6 separate regions of the Homo sapiens genome follow, and regions 2, 3, 4, 5 and 6 are each linked to region 1. The links are contacts of gene promoters, found by promoter capture Hi-C in blood cells and fetal thymus (Javierre and others, 2016). All regions are on one chromosome and are shown on one strand. Each heading gives the region's core, a stretch centred on a gene start or on the middle of the fragment in contact. The rest is flanking DNA. Distances are from core to core; before and after follow the strand shown.

Region 1 (2,579 bases), core at 47-2,546:
GTTTCAAGTTAACATGTAAAATCGGAGAACTCGAGACAGAAGAGGACCTTAGAGATCCTTTAATTCAATATTTTAGAGAAAAATGGGTAGAGGATAAACTAACTTGCTGATCACCGTGTCGGTATTCATGCTGTGAAAGTAATAAACGGAACACCAACTGAGAAATGATCCCCGAATGCTGTCAGGTACTTCAGTCTTGCAAAAACTACTACAGATTAATCAGTCCTGCTCATCCGTTTAACTCAGCTATGTAAACAAGCAGAGCTAGACTATGCTCAAACCCTAAATATTAGCGTTACCACTCGCCTGCCACATACTACAGCATCATTAGTTATGAAAGTGTTTTAATACAAGATCTTCATGTTTGTGTAAAAGAATTACTATAAAACAGACCTAAAGGCAAGTTACCCATATTCCAGAATAAGTGAGTGCCAAAAATATTCACCCTTCATTACAGTACAAATGAGACAGGCAGTAATAATGAGACTGCATTTAAAGTTGTTTTTGCACTTAAAATTTAAGTCTATACTCCTCATCTGCATCAGGCCCCGGCCTGTTTGGTAACCTCAATATTCCTTTACTAAAGTGACAGCATCACCACCCTTTGAGACACAGATGCCCGGTGGACATCTGTGCCTGCAGCAGGAACGCGGGTGTCCGCGGGTTTCTGCAAAACTCCACCATGACCAAAGCTGCATCTCCAGCTGAACAGGTCTAACCCTTGCTTCGGAAGCCATCTGTCCCTGTCTCCCTGACACAGAATCACGGCCTCCTATGCCGTAAGGCTCCGAACATCTGTAAAATCAGCGGGGTGGACTAACGCAGAATTCTTTTTCCAGCTCTCAAAATTCCGCCTCATTGCCGGAGTGGCAGGGCGGTGCAGAGAAAGAGCCCTGGGCTTGACACCGCTTGAAAAGCCCACGTTCGCATTGCTCTGACCACCCCTCCAACTCCCGGGGACTACAGGAGTGCGAGGGGGCCCGCTGCGCCCCACTGTCCCTCGCGGGCTCCTGGCCCACAGAGCGCAGCACAGCGCCGCCGCTGGGAAAGGGCCGATACAGGCCTAGCCGCGCGGCGCGGCGCGGCGCGTCTCTCGGGGTGCGGGTCCCCTCCGCCCGCGGCCCCGGACCGCGACCCCCGCTCCCCGCCCGGCCCCCGCCCGGCTCCGGCCTGGCCCGGCCTCTGACCTGCTTTCCGCCGCCCGGCGGTCCCTCGGCGCGGCAGGCAGTTGCAGCCGCCAGTCCCCAGCCCGCTGTCACCTCCGCCCCTGGAAGCGGCGGGCGGGTCGATCCCGTGTGAGTCAGCGCGCCGCCCCGCCTCCCGCTCAGGCTTCCGCCTCTGCCGGCGCGGTCCGCGCGGCCCCGGGGGCGCCAAGCTCCGCTGCCCGCGCGCCCACCTCTCCGGCGCCCGCCCCGCGCTCGCGCCCCCTGGCGGCCGGCCCGGCCCTGCTCGCCTCGCGACGTCAGAGGGGCGTCGCTCCCAGAACGGCCACCGGGGAAACTGAGGCACGGGGGCCCGCCCCCGCCGCAGCGCGCCGACACGGCTCGTCGGGCCTCGGCCTCACGCAGTCCTACGTGCAGCCCCGGCTGCGGACAAGTTCCTCCACTCTTGCTGTTCCCCCACTCCCGACACCACCCTCCAACCTAGAAAAAAGTCAAAATTCCATTCAGAGAAGTCCAAGTCGATTCCTGTCTGCGTGTGATGCTGTCCTCTTTGCTACCCCGAGGCAGTTTCCCTTATTATGCCACACAATACTCGCTGGGGTTCGCCTCTATCTGTCCCATTTTTTTCTGAGGAAAGTCTCTCAGGACATCTTTGAGAATTTGAGAGCAAGAAATGACAGAAGCAAGAACTGGGCAGGGCTGTCAGAACTCCTCCTCCGACTCAGTTTCTGAATCCCCGCAGTATTCCCGTTGTTTGTTTAAAGACCACGAAGTTACACAGCTTGGCTATGTTGCTGGAATTGCTGCGCCTCACGTTTCTGGAATCTACCTAGAGGATTCTGAAGAAGGCGGCGAGTCTATGACTGTGCATGCACAACAAAAATAAATATTTCACAAATCTCATCCCATGCTGTATATGTTTCTCCTTCCCTTTGCTTTTTAAAAACTTGTGGTTAAATATATATCACATGAAATTTACCATTTTAATCCTTTTTAAGTGTACAGTTCAGTGGCATTAAGTACATTGACATTGTTCTGCAACCATCACCACCATCCAGCTCCAGAACTTTTTCATCTTCCCAAACTGAAACTGTACCCATTAAACACTAACTCCTCATTCTCCAGCCCCTGGTAACCATCATTCTACTTTCTGTCTCTATGATTACTCTGGATACCTCATATAAGTGGGATCATACAATATTGTCCTTTTGTGAGTGGCTTCTTTCACCTAGCATAATGTCTTCAAGGCTCACCCATGTTGTAGCATGCGTTAGAATATCCTTCCTTTTGAAGGCTGAATAATACTCAATTGTACGTATATAACATCTTTGGTTTATCCCATCTTTCTGTGGACATTTGGGTTGTTTGTACCTTTAGGCTATGGTGAATAATGCTGCAATGAACATGGGTGTACAA
Region 2 (2,579 bases), core at 59-2,558, 250 kb before region 1:
TCCCTTATCTTCCTGTTTTCTTCTGAGCCTTCTAAACTCTTCCAACTTTTGCCCATTACCCAGTTCCAAAGCCACTTCCACATTTTCAAGTATCTTTATAGCAACCACCCTCTCCTTGGTACCAGTTGTCTTCCTTAGTTCATTTGTGTTGCTATAAATGCCTGAGGCTTTGTAACTTGAAAAGAAATTTTATTTGGCTCACAGTTCTGCAGCCTGTACAAGAAGCCTGGTGCCAGTATATCCTAACCACAACATCATTGATTGGACCAATCCAGAAAAAGGGTTCTGATTGTCCAGGCCCTCTTGTACAGTCAAAAGACTGGCAGCTGGTGTTTATCTTTTCCTTTGAAGGCTCAGGGGTTAGCTGCTATATAGACAAGGGCTGTCCTAATAATAAACCTGACTGCATTTGCACAAAACAGTAGAGTTAGCTTTTCCCTTTCTGCCTTAAATCTTGATGCTCGATTCTCTTCCTTACTAATGTGTTTTGTGGCATTTTTTCCTTACTGATAAATGTGTTTTGTGGCATTTTTTTGTGGCAAACTGATGCAGACAGAAAACCAAATACCCCATGTTCTCACTTATAAGTGGGAGCGAAACATTGGCTACATATGGACAAAGACGGGAGCAATAGACACTGAGGACTACTAGAGTGGGGAGAGAAGGAAAGAGGGAAGGGCTGAAAAACTACCTATTGGGTACTATGCCAACTACCTGGGTGATGGGTTTAGTGATACTCCAAACCTCAGCGTCTTGCAATATATCTTTGTAACAAATCTGCACATGTATCCCCTGAAGAGTACAAGTTGAAAAGAAAAAAAAAAGCCCCTGTAGGCTGGGCATGGTGGCTCATGCCTGCAATCCCAGCACTTTGGGAGGCCAAGGCGGGTGGATCACTTGAGATCAGGAGTTCAAGACCAGCCTGGCTAACATGGCAAAACCCCGTCTCTAGTAAAAATTTAAAAAGTAAAAAAAATTAGCCAAGTGTGGTGGCACGCACCTATAATCACAGCCACTCAGGAGGCTGAGATAGGAGAATAGTTTGAACCTGGGAGGTGGAGGTTGCAGAAAGCTGAGATCGCGCCATTGCACTCCAGCCTGGGTGATGGAGTGACTCTGTATCAAAAAAAAAAAAAAAAAAAAAACTATAATAAACATGTTTATTGTATTAAACATGTTTCCCTGAGTTCCGTTAGCTACTCCAACAAATCAATCAAACCTGAGGAGGGGGTTGTGGGAATTCAGATTTATAGTTGGTCGGTGACAAGCACAGGCAAAATAATCTGGGGCTTGCAATTGATGTTGGAAGTTGGCTGGTGAGGAGTGGGAAGTTGGGGGACAGTCTTGGGGACTGAGCCCTCAACCTGTGGGATCTGATGCTATCTTCAGGTAGATAATGTTGAGATTGAATTAGAGTACACCGAGCTGGTGTCTGCTGCAGAAGTGATTGCTTGCTTGGTGTGTGTCAGGGAGACCCTCACTCCCCACATTTGGTCATAAAAGTCCTCTGTGTTGATTGTTGTGAGAATAGAAAAAACACTTTGAGTTTTCCTACTCTCGGAAAGATCAGTATATGAAATAAATTGTATTGCTTTACACTAGCAACAAACAATCCTAAAATGCAGTTAATAAAAGTTCAGTTTATAATAGCATCAAAAAGATAAAATGCTTAGGAATAAATGTAATCAAAGAAGCGTAAGACAGGCCAGATGCAGTGGCTCACACCTGTAACCCCAGCACTCTGGGAGGCCGCGACGGGTGGATGATGTGAGGTCAGGAGTTCCAGACCAGTCTGGCCAACATGGTGAAACTCTGTCTGTATTAAAAATACAAAAATTAGCCAGGTGTGGTGGTGGGCACCTGTAATCCCAGCTACTTGGGAGGCTAAGAAAAGAGAATCACTTGAACCTGGGAGGCAGAGGTTGCAGTGAGCCAAGATCGCACCACTGCACTCCAGCCCAGGCAACAGAGCAAGGCTCAGTCTCAAAAAAAAAAAAAAAAAGTGTAAGACAGTATACTGAAAACTACAAAACATTGTTGAAAGAAATTTTAAAAGACTTAACAATGAAGAAATAAATGGAAAGACATCCCATGTTCATAGATTGGTAAACTTACTACTTTTAAGATTCCAACACTCTTCAATTGATCTACGGAGTCAATGTAATTGCTAGCAGAATTCCAACTGCCTTTTTGTGTAAAAGTTGACAAATTGATCCTAAAATCCATCTGGAAACGCAAATGCCCCAGGATAGCCAGAAAATCTTGAAAAAGAAGAACAACATTTGATGACATACTTCCTGATTTCAAAACTTACTACAAAGCTATGGTAATCAAGGCCATGTAGTACTGGCATAAAGATAATTATATAGCTCAATAGGATACAATTGAAAGTCCAGAAATAAGCACTTACATTATAGTCCATTGATTTTTGACTAGGATTCCAAGACAATTCAGTGGGGGAAAGAATGGTCTTTTTAACAAATGATGCTTAGACAACTGGATATCCACATGCAAAAGAATAAAGTTGGACCCTTACCTTACACCAAATGCAAAAATTAACTCAAAGGGTCATAACCTAA
Region 3 (2,579 bases), core at 29-2,528, 210 kb before region 1:
CTTCCCTTCCTCCCTCTCTCCTTCCATCCATCCATCCCTCCTTTTCTTCCATCCCTCAGTATTTGATTCTCTACTATGTGCCACATAATATAGTAGTGAAATAGACAGATGTTGCCCTCATCCTCACAGAGTTTACATCTAGTGGAGAAACAGAAAAAAACAAAGTAATTATGGTTCATTGTGATGAATGTAATGACAAAGGTAAGCTCAGGATATTATGAGAGTACACAGGACGAATATCTAACCCCAACTTGGTAGTCACGGTGGTTTTCTTATAAGAAGTTACATCTCAGCTGACACCAAAGGATAAATAGGAGTTTTCTGGGCAAAGAAGTGTGTGGATGGGTAGAGTTGGAGGAAGGTGGGAATAAGAGGAAAGAGTGGTCAAGAATGAGAGAATACCATGTGTAAGATTTGGAGGCAAGAAGTCACAGTGCCTTGGAGAAGCTGTGTCCATATGGAGCACATCCTTCCATTGTAATCTCACTTCCTGAGCTTCCTCTTCTACTCCCTAGTATCCTTGGCTTTGTCCATGGGTCCTAATTTCAATCCTTATCTTTAGGCATTGACCCTATCCAACTTGGCCAGGAAGGAGTACACCGTTGGAGAAACAGTGAACCTGATGTCTGTGGATGCCCAGAAGCTCATGGATGTGACCAACTTCATGCACATGCTGTGGTCAAGTGTTCTACAGATTGTCTTATCTATCTTCTTCCTATGGAGAGAGTTGGGACCCTCAGTCTTAGCAGGTGTTGGGGTGATGGTGCTTGTAATCCCAATTAATGCGATACTGTCCACCAAGAGTAAGACCATTCAGGTAAAGAAAAAGTCACCCAGAAGAATATAAGCTTTCTTTAAAGTGTAAACCCTTTTTCTTACTCTACTCTAATTCTTAATGGGAGTTTGGGCAAGGCAAAGCTGGTGGAAGACTTTCTACCATCTCAATTGTACTTAGCTGTCTCTGAGTTCCCTTTTCATCTTCTGATGACTCTTAGGGTTTATATATACTCCTCTGCATTCATGTTAGAGGGAAGAGCCTGACTGGGGAAGGAAGGGCTACCCCAGAGATGCTGCACATAATTCTTCCATCTTGCTCTGCTGGGCTGCCCTAAGAACAGGGATTTGGGGCCCTGCTTCTCCATTATGGCAATCTAAACCAACCACAGAGAGCAGTCGCATGAGTGATCCAAATTTCAGCCTGAGCCTTGGCAATCACCCCGCTACCACCAGGTGGGAGGGCTCCGTGTGGACAGTGTCCTCAGTCCTGCCAGAAGTCACAGGTTGGGTGGGTGGACTTGACAGTGTATATGATTTATTCACTCATTTGTTTTGCATTCAAGTTACAAATAATTGTTTTGAAAATATTTCTTACATATCTTACTTCTCTGAGAACACAGCAGTGAGTTAGGGCTCCTGTTCTCATGGATCTTACATTCTACCTGGTAGGGTGGTGGAGAGACAGGCAATACACAAAGAAGAAAAATATCAGATCATGATAAGTATTATACAGAGAATTCAACAGGGTGATGAGATAGTGAGTGAGTGGGTGGTTATTTTCAATGAGTTCAGGGAAGGCCTCTTGGGGAGTGGACATTTAAGCTGAACTCTGAATGATACAAGCCTGACTGTAAAGGAGAAAGCCTTGGGAAGGGCAGGGAAAGAACAGCCTGGGAGGTGGGTACAGTCAGGCAAGGGCTATGGGACAGAAACAAGCTTGGAACAAGCAAGGATCAGAAAGAAGATGGGTGCGGCAGGAGCAGAGTGGGCAAAGAGGAGAGTGGAGGGAGGTGAATCCCATCACTGGGCACCTCAAGTTCTTACTAAGTGACAGCCACAAAGTAGCAGTGAGGCCTGATGTCTGCAGCAAACCTGAGCCCTCTCTCATGGAAGCGTATATTGTTTTTCTTTTGCTTTTTTCCTGGCAGGTCAAAAATATGAAGAATAAAGACAAACGTTTAAAGATCATGAATGAGATTCTTAGTGGAATCAAGGTGAGAATCTGAGCGTAGGTGGCTCTCTGTGGGTAAGGACAGAAGCAGTGGCTCTCTTGGCCTTTGCAAACCCTGGTAGAGGTGATGGATTCCTGCTTCTGGGCCGGTTGTGTCACATGACTTTTGTTTCATGTCCTCCTGTCCCTCTCAGGTCCTCCGTTGAACCCCAATTTCTATTTATTCACCCTAAATAGCTTGTTTTGTTTTGACACTTTACTGTAGAAGTGTTTAAACATGTAGAAAAGTAGAGACTATCATGAACCCCTACAAACTTTTCACCCAGCTCCAGGAATTATCAGCATGACCTAACTAGTTTCATCTATAAACCCACACCCCTCACACTTGCTAGATTATTTTAAAGCAAATCTCAGAGATCTTGTCATTTCATTCATAAATGCTGTGTATGTAGCTCTAAAAGAAGGATTTATTTTAAAAATATAGCCACAATACCAGTATCATACCTACAAAAAAAATTAACATTCTTTGATACCATCAAAGTTCTCCAGTTGCCTCATATGTGCCTTTTGTTTGTTTTGCTGTTGGTTAGATTGAATAAGGACCCAAAAAATGTCCATGCATGATATTTAA
Region 4 (2,579 bases), core at 59-2,558, 180 kb before region 1:
CCTTTGCAAATCTTCAGACTCATTATTAACCTGTTAGCAGAGGCTGTGGGCTTTCTACCAAGTCATATTTCCATAAAGAATGCTATGTTTCCTGTGAATGTCCTCATCCTACACTTCATGAGTGTTTGATTCCATTCTGATGTGTGGAGGAACAGGAAAACTCAGACCTAGAGCACATAATTCAAATTAATGAAATTTAACCACAAATTTCAAGGTCGGCAGTAGAACCCCATCATCTGTTCCACTCTGATTTTTTGTTTGTGTGTTTATTTTAGATACAGGGTCTCACTATGTTGCCCAGGCTGGACTAAAACCTCAGGGCTCAAGAGATCCTCCCACACCAGCCTTCTGAGTAGCTGGGACTACAGGGGCATGCTATCATGTCTGGCTTGTCCCAATCTGTTTTTATATCTTCTCCTCTTAAATGCCTTTAGCTTTGATGATTATTTACCCTGCATTGTATTTCAGCATTGTTCTATTATCCTTCCTGGCACAGTGCAGAAATGGTGACCACAGACTACCAAATTTTGCTACCTGCTACCCATGCTCCCAGGGGACTCCACTTCTCCTTGTGGTTGGCATTCTAGGTGATTCCTTATCAAAAGCCATTAGGGAGTTCTACTAATATTGAGGTGGGGACTTTGCAGGTGAAGTTCTCCATCTACCTGGAGTACCTACAAGCAATAGGATTGTTTTCGATATTCTTCATCATCCTTGCGTTTGTGATGAATTCTGTGGCTTTTATTGGATCCAACCTCTGGCTCAGTGCTTGGACCAGTGACTCTAAAATCTTCAATAGCACCGACTATCCAGCATCTCAGAGGGACATGAGAGTTGGAGTCTACGGAGCTCTGGGATTAGCCCAAGGTATGTCTGATGGCTATGACATCTTACAGAATCTGTCTGGACCCTGTACTTTTCCTGGACTCAGGAATGCATTTGCCATTATGTCCTGGGCACAAGTCTTCAGGGATTCCTGTGCATGGTGCTGACAAAACTGCTTCCATCTCTAGGTATATTTGTGTTCATAGCACATTTCTGGAGTGCCTTTGGTTTCGTCCATGCATCAAATATCTTGCACAAGCAACTGCTGAACAATATCCTTCGAGCACCTATGAGATTTTTTGACACAACACCCACAGGCCGGATTGTGAACAGGTTTGCCGGCGTAAGTATCTCAAGAACTGTCAGGTGGTGTGTTTATATACTGAGGATCTTTCTGATAGGGAGGAATTATTATGTCCCCCTAGACAACACTGTTCAGTTCCAGTTCTTTTGTCACTCAACATGCAAGTGTTTCTTGAGTACCTGCTGTGAGCTCCCAAGAATCCTGGAGATTGAGGGATGAACATCTCTGACCCTTCAAGTAGCTCAGCATCTAGTGAAGAAGACAACCAAAGAAGTGAAGGATTATAATAGAATATAGTAAAACCAGTAACAGCAGTGTGTAGAAAGGTGGTCTGGGAGTACAAAGGAAAAAAAGGCACTAGCCCAGCCTGCGTGATAAAGGTGGGAAATGTCAGAAAAGGTGAAACTTAAGTCATAGAAGCAAGCCAGGGAGATGGCAAGGGTTGGGGGATGGCAGTAGAGCAGGGTGAGAAGGATTATTCTGCAGAGGAAGGAACATAAATAAAAGCACTGTCACAGCCTGGGACAGGAAATACAAGAGATAGTAGGATAACCCTTTGCTTGGCCTCTGCCTCCATTCCTGAAACTTCTATCTTGAATGCTTTAAGAATGAGTAAATTTGGTCTGGACTATGGAATAGAGCCATCAGTGATTTTAAAAAGTTCTCAAATATTGTTTCCATCTACCACAGATCCTGGACCCCTTGGCATTCACTCATTCATTCATTCAACAACCGTTATTGAGCACTTTCTATGAGCCAACTACTGTACTAGACACTGGGGCACTCAATGAATGTGAAGATCATAGATGTCTCTCTTCCATGGGCCAGACCCAACTCACTGATTTTTTAGTGTATCTGAGATGGGAATTCAGGAACAGAGGCAGAGATCAGGCAATTCTGAATGATAAGTAACTATCACCAGCACAGTTTTTAGCCCTGTGCTTATGGAGCAGCTCTGGACTCTTGTTTGTTGGTCTTGGGGCAGACATAGAAAGTATAGCTCACAGTCCACAGCCAGGTTCTGGGGACACAGTAACTGCTTCAAAAGTGGGCCATTAACTGGTCCCCCTGTGTCATCTTCCTCTGGGGCAGAAACAGTGGGCATGATGTCACTAGAGACAACTTCAATGGCCTTTCTGCTCTTTACTAGAACCTAAAAGAACACTCAATTTTGGGTGAGAAATTTCTCATAGTAATTTTGTAAAGATCACAGTTTTCCCCATGTTGTAATATATATAATCTTCTGGGAAAGAGAACACAGAGGTTTTCTGTGAGTTACTTAGGCAACAGTCATAGTTTGAAGACTGCTTTTGCATGAGAAAGGAAACTGTCATTAATTATATAGTATGTTTCGTTGGGGAGGTGGCTCAGACCTATTAAGGGGAGTTTGATCAAGGGGCCTCTGGGATCAATGGCTGAGTTAAGAGGAGATGGAGTGGAGGAAGGAAAG
Region 5 (2,579 bases), core at 56-2,555, 160 kb before region 1:
CACAGAAAGCAGAGGCTCCCAGCTGTGCACAATCAGGATGAAAATAGTCTGGCTGCCTGGTCCAATCCTAGAGTCTGATTTAATTGTTTGAGGCTAGACTGGACATAGGGAGTTTTAAAGGATCCCCACGAGGCTGTTAAGGGCATCGCAGTTAAAGAACCACTGATCTAAAGAGCATGCGGATGACAGGGAACGTGACATCTGTAAAATCCGTAGGCACTGTTGAAACACCTGAAATCAACAAAAGACTCTCTTGGCTTTCACAGTTATTTTTAACCTTTCCAAAACATTTTTATATAATTGACAGTTCACTTCTGGCCTTCAGTGTATGTTTGCCTGTCCATTAATAAGTTGATCTGGCATTTTTCCTGTAACATTTTTGTTTTTCCTTCCACACACTGAAGTTCTGCCCTCAGCCAAAGCCCACTGCTCATGGACAGGTCTTGCTCCTGCCCCAGGGGCCTCAGTGGTGGTAGGCAGGGAATAGGCCGTTGGCAAGTTGAAGCTCAGGAAGGAAGGGAGGGCTCAGTAACTGATTCAGGGGCCAGCCACTCTGGCTTCACCTGGGAGCTTGTTACATGTGCAGAATCTCAGGGCGTAGACCTACTCATCAGAATCCGCACTTTAGCAAGATTCCCAGGTGATTTGTGTGCACATTACACTTGAGAAGCACTGCCTAGAGTGTTGTGATTAACTAGGCTGCAAGCTAAAATCACCCAGGAAGCTTTAAAGCTCCCAACGCCTAAACTGTAGCCCAGACCAACTGAATCGGGGACCCAGGTGATTTTAGTGTGTAGCCCCAGGGAACAAGCCCTGGTAGAGAACATCGTCAGTTTACTTTCCCTCCACAACAGATCTAGCAACTAGCAGGACTCAAGTAGGTCTTTAGGCCAGTGTAAAAGATCATTCAAACATTCAGTCAGCAAAAATGTAATAACACCGGCCGGGCGCAGTGGCTCATGCCTGTAATCCCAGCACTTTGGGAGGCCGAGGCAGCCGGATCACCTGAGGTCGGGAGCTCGAGACCAGCCTGACCAACGTGGAGACACCCCATCTCTACTAAACATACAAAATTAGTGGGGCATGGTGGCACAGGCCTGTAATCCCAGCAGTAATCCCTCAGGAGGCTGAGGCAGGAGAATCGCTTGAACCCGGGTGGCGGAGGTTGTGGTGAGCTGAGATTGCGCCATTGCACTCCAGCCTGGGAGACAAGAGCGAAACTCCGTCTCGAAAATATATGTACACCTACTGTGTGCCAGGTACTGAAAATACAGAGGCAAACAGAGACACAACCCTGACTTCCTAGCATTTACAGCATAATGAAGACAGACCTCTGTCAGTAAATGCCAGTACAGTCTGTGCTACAGAGGGTACATTTGGGATGCTATGGTAGGGTACAATGGGAGGCCTTGACATTTCTGGTTTGTAAAAACAAAAATCATGCCATCTTTCTCCTGTCCAAGCTGAGAGATGCTTAAATGGTATTACCAATGCCTTGATTTCAGACCTGAGTTTCAAACCTGGCCTGGGGGACTAAAACTTACATTTCTCTGTTGAATGATGGGTAAGTTCAGCTTGGAGAGAGCAGCTGAAAGACAAAGTGGCGCCTCAGCAACAGTCTGTTACTCTAAAGTCCAAAGTCTACGTTACACTTTGGGCCAGGCAGGAGTTTGGTACAAGCTAAGTAAATAGTTTTTCAGTGTCTCTGATCTTACATTACAGGGGAAAACTGGAAGTTCATCTTGGGTGACTTCTCATCTCCTGCAGAAATTTTCTTACAGAGAATTACAGCACTTTGGCCACCCCCTGTTTAATATGTTCCCTAATGGCCACAGCAGGAAAGAGCAATTAGCAAATTCCTGAATATTTCCTTCACATCATTTCCCAAAGCTTCTTTATGTTAGGTAAGAGGTCCAGCCTTCATTACAGGCTTTTAGCAAATTAAAGCTATTTGCATTTTAGAAGCATATTTGAATTCCACATACATTGCATCTCACACCAAGACATCACGTTCATTAGACAGCTTCATCTCTAATCAAAGCAGAAGGCCTTGAACAAATAATTAGCCTTGAGGCTAGAATTACACATTAAAATAATAAATTGATTTGCTAAGGCCACAAAGAAATGCCACTGGGGCATTCTAGTGTTGCTCCACCCTATATTAATGGCTTCAGGTCAAATGCTGCTAACGTAAACTTGGTGACACTCATGTTGTTTTGGAAATGTTGATGTCACGGCAACCAAATACAAAGCATGGTTCCTGGGCCATTGTTATCCAAACTTGTTTAAGCATAAAAATGGCCTGGGGTGCTTAGTAAAAAGGCACCTTCCTAGGCTCCTGCCCGCTCTGATTGAGCAAAGCAAGGGCCCAGAAATATGACTTTTTAATTAAGTACTTGGGGTGGGTCTTCAATTGGGAAAGTTTGAAAAACGATGCTCACAGCAGCAAGGTACAGCTAGTTGAAGAGGCCCAAACATTCCAGGGGAATTTTGGAGGGGGGGTTTTGAAAGTCTGATCTGGAACATGAAAATGGTCCCCCTGCCCTGCGTCTTTCCTTGGTCTTTAGGAGCTAACACAT
Region 6 (2,579 bases), core at 37-2,536, 140 kb before region 1:
GTTATCACATGAGGGAATCTCCTGATCTGCAGATTACAAAAACCAAGGGAAAAGGGTAGTATCCGGGCTGGGTAGCACAGTCCCTCACGGCTTCCCTTGGCTGGGGGAGGGAGGTCCCCTGGCTCCTTGAGTTTCTGGGGTGAAGCGACGCCCCACTCTGCTTCTGCTCACCCTCCATGGGTTGTACCCACAGCCTAACCCCCGTGAGATGAACTGGGTATCTCAGTTGTAAATGCAGAAATCGCCCGCCTTCTGCATTGGTCTCACTGGGAGCTGCAGACCAGAGCTCTTCCTATTCTATCTTGGCCCCTCCCCTCTTTCTTGTCTTTTTTTATAAAAGCCATTTTAACTGTGGTGAGATGATATCTCATTGTGGTTTCAATTTGCATTTATCTGGTTAGTGATATTGAGCTTTTTTTTTTTTTTCTTTTAAGACAAGGTCTCACTCTTACTCAGACTGGAGTATAGTAGCTCAATTATAGCTCACTGCAGCGTCAGCCTCCTGGGCTCAAGCCAGAAGCCTCCCACCTCAGCCTCCCAAGTAGCTGGGACCACAGACAGGCAGGCACCACCACTCCCAGCTAATTATTATTATTTTTGGCAGAGGTGGGTTCTCTCTATGTTGCCCAGGCTGGTCTTGAACTCCTGGGCTAAAGCAGTCCTCCCACCTCAGCCTCACGCAGTGCTGGGATTATAGGTGTGAGCTAACAGGCCTGGTCCCTTTGCCCAATTTTAAATTGGGTGTTTATTTTCTTTTCAATGAGTTATAAGACTTCTTTATATATTCCGGATACAATTCTCTTATCAGACGTATGAGTTGAAATATATTTTTCTTATTCTGTGGGTTGTCTTTTCACTTTGATAGTGTGTTTCTTGTTTTGTTTGGTTGTTTTTAGATGGGGTCTTGCTCTGTCACCCAGGCTGGAGTGCAGTGGCACAATCATGGCTCACTGCAGTTGCTACGTCCTGGGCTCAAGCAATCCTCCCACCTCAGCTTCCCAAGTAGCTGGGACTACACCACCATGCCTGGCTAATTGAAAAAAATTTTTTGTAGAGACGAGTTCTACCTGTGTTGCCCAGGCTGGTCTCAGATTCCTGGGCTCAAGAAATCCTGCCTTGGCCTCCCAAGGTGCTGCGGTTATAGGTGTGAGCCATCATGCCTGGCCAATGGCATTATAAGCACAAAAGTTTTCCATTTTGATGAGGTCTAATTTATCTGGTTTTTTTTTTTTTTTGGTCACTTTTGTTGTCATTTGAAGAAACTAAAGCCTAATCCAAGGTTGTGAGAACTTTTTCCCATTTTAAGAATTGTGTAGTTCTAACTCTTACATTTAGGTCTATGCTCCATTTGGAGTGAATTTTCGTGTGTGGTTTAGGAAGCGGTCTAACTTCATTCTCCTGCATGTGGATATCCAGTTGTCCTGGCACCATCTGTGCAAAAGATGGTTGTTTCCCCATTAAGTTGTTCTGACACCTTGGTCAATTCATATTTGACAATACATGTAAAGGTTTATTTTTATGTTTTTTGAGACGAGGTCTCACGCTGTCACCAGGCTGGAGTGCAGTAGCATGTTCACTGTTCACTGCAGCCCCAACCTCCCAGGCTCAAATAATCTTCCTACTTCGCCTCTCAAGTAGCTGGAATTACAGGTGTGCACCACCATGCCCAACTAAGTTTTGTATTTTTGTAGAAATGGAATTTCACCATGTTGCCTAGGTTGGTCTCGAATTCTGGGCTCAAGCAATCCTTCTACCTCAGCCTCACAAAGTGTTGGGGTTATAGGTGTGACCTGCTGTGCCTGGCCAAAGTTTTAGACCCTCAATCTATGTCTATCTTATGTCAGTCTCACATAGTCTTACTTATTGTAGTTTTATATCTTGTTCCTTTTTTCAAGATTGTTTTGGCTACTCTGGGTCCCTTGCGTTTCCATATGAATTTTAGGATCAGTGTGCGAATCTTCTTAACTTGGAGCAGATGCTATAGAAGACTCCCAATAGTGAACTGAGGACCAAAATTATCCAGAAGCCTCTACATGGTGAAGGAAAGATTAGGGAACCAGGCAGGTTATTTACTGGTACTAGGTGTATTTTGGAAATTTCCTAAAGAGTTGTTACCTCTGGGGGTGAGGGTACTCCCTACTGCCATGCAGGCCTCAATTTCCAAATGGTTCAGTCAAAAGACTGGATTTAGAGGATTAGAATTCCAAGAAATCCAAAGGTTCAGGAACAGAGGCAGCCAGGGCAGGACTCCAGACAGCTCTATGTAGACCAGGCCCTGGAGGAGAGTTGAAGGTTATGTGTTGTTTCCACATTGACCTAAAGCAATGGAGACTGGCTTAGACTCTTACTGCTATTCAATCCTTCCTTTAAAGGGCCAGTGTCCTCTTTTGATGAAGGCTCCCACAGAACTGACTAGGAAGGGCCATTCAATGGCTTAGGGCCAAAGTCCTTTTGGTTGTACACATGAGCTGGTGTGTTCTCAAGTGGGTATATAGCAAAGGGTTAAATACATGAGCTTTGCTCTCAGGGCTGGGATTGAAATCTGAGTCTTACTATTTCTATCTGGGTAAACCTGGTTG

Evidence for each region. Contacts are between HindIII fragments. The CHiCAGO score rates a contact against its expected background, and 5 or more counts as called.
Region 2: a contact is called between a fragment that was not itself captured here and the fragment with the promoter of DNMBP in region 1, in 1 of 17 cell types (monocytes). The highest score is 5.2, in monocytes.
Region 3: a contact is called between a fragment that was not itself captured here and the fragment with the promoter of DNMBP in region 1, in 3 of 17 cell types (M1 macrophages, M2 macrophages and naive CD8 T cells). The highest score is 5.4, in M1 macrophages.
Region 4: a fragment that was not itself captured here is called in contact with the fragment with the promoter of DNMBP in region 1 in 13 of 17 cell types (naive CD8 T cells, naive CD4 T cells, activated CD4 T cells and 10 more); the score reaches 8.6 in naive CD8 T cells.
Region 5: a fragment that was not itself captured here is called in contact with the fragment with the promoter of DNMBP in region 1 in 16 of 17 cell types (naive CD8 T cells, total CD8 T cells, activated CD4 T cells and 13 more); the score reaches 12.5 in naive CD8 T cells.
Region 6: a contact is called between a fragment that was not itself captured here and the fragment with the promoter of DNMBP in region 1, in 1 of 17 cell types (naive CD8 T cells). The highest score is 5.3, in naive CD8 T cells.

The regions. Positions count from the first base shown.
Region 1 is chr10:100,008,651-100,011,229 of GRCh38, forward strand. It overlaps DNMBP (dynamin binding protein), which reads right to left and starts at 1,297. Exons shown (of 17, transcript NM_015221.4): 1 at 1,188-1,297. RefSeq lists a silencer at 1,070-1,589. The HindIII fragment of the contact is 18,497 bases long and covers 1-2,579 here.
Region 2 is chr10:99,761,331-99,763,909 of GRCh38, forward strand. No RefSeq gene overlaps it. Among named protein-coding and RNA genes, the nearest start is that of ABCC2, 20 kb to the right of the region's middle. RefSeq lists a silencer at 1-69. The HindIII fragment of the contact is 6,331 bases long and covers 1-2,579 here.
Region 3 is chr10:99,803,457-99,806,035 of GRCh38, forward strand. It overlaps ABCC2 (ATP binding cassette subfamily C member 2), which reads left to right. Exons shown (of 32, transcript NM_000392.5): 10 at 563-817; 11 at 1,926-1,991. Among named protein-coding and RNA genes, the nearest start is that of ABCC2, 22 kb to the left of the region's middle. The HindIII fragment of the contact is 865 bases long and covers 847-1,711 here.
Region 4 is chr10:99,830,964-99,833,542 of GRCh38, forward strand. ABCC2 (ATP binding cassette subfamily C member 2) reads left to right here. Exons shown (of 32, transcript NM_000392.5): 22 at 648-867; 23 at 1,014-1,168. Among named protein-coding and RNA genes, the nearest start is that of ABCC2, 50 kb to the left of the region's middle. RefSeq lists an enhancer at 1-227. The HindIII fragment of the contact is 3,144 bases long and covers 1-2,579 here.
Region 5 is chr10:99,848,002-99,850,580 of GRCh38, forward strand. The region is part of intron 30 of ABCC2 (ATP binding cassette subfamily C member 2); the gene reads left to right. Among named protein-coding and RNA genes, the nearest start is that of ABCC2, 67 kb to the left of the region's middle. RefSeq lists an enhancer at 1,865-2,545 and a silencer at 2,091-2,385. The HindIII fragment of the contact is 1,166 bases long and covers 723-1,888 here.
Region 6 is chr10:99,870,121-99,872,699 of GRCh38, forward strand. No RefSeq gene overlaps it. Among named protein-coding and RNA genes, the nearest start is that of DNMBP-AS1, 56 kb to the right of the region's middle. RefSeq lists an enhancer at 193-342. The HindIII fragment of the contact is 3,129 bases long and covers 1-2,579 here.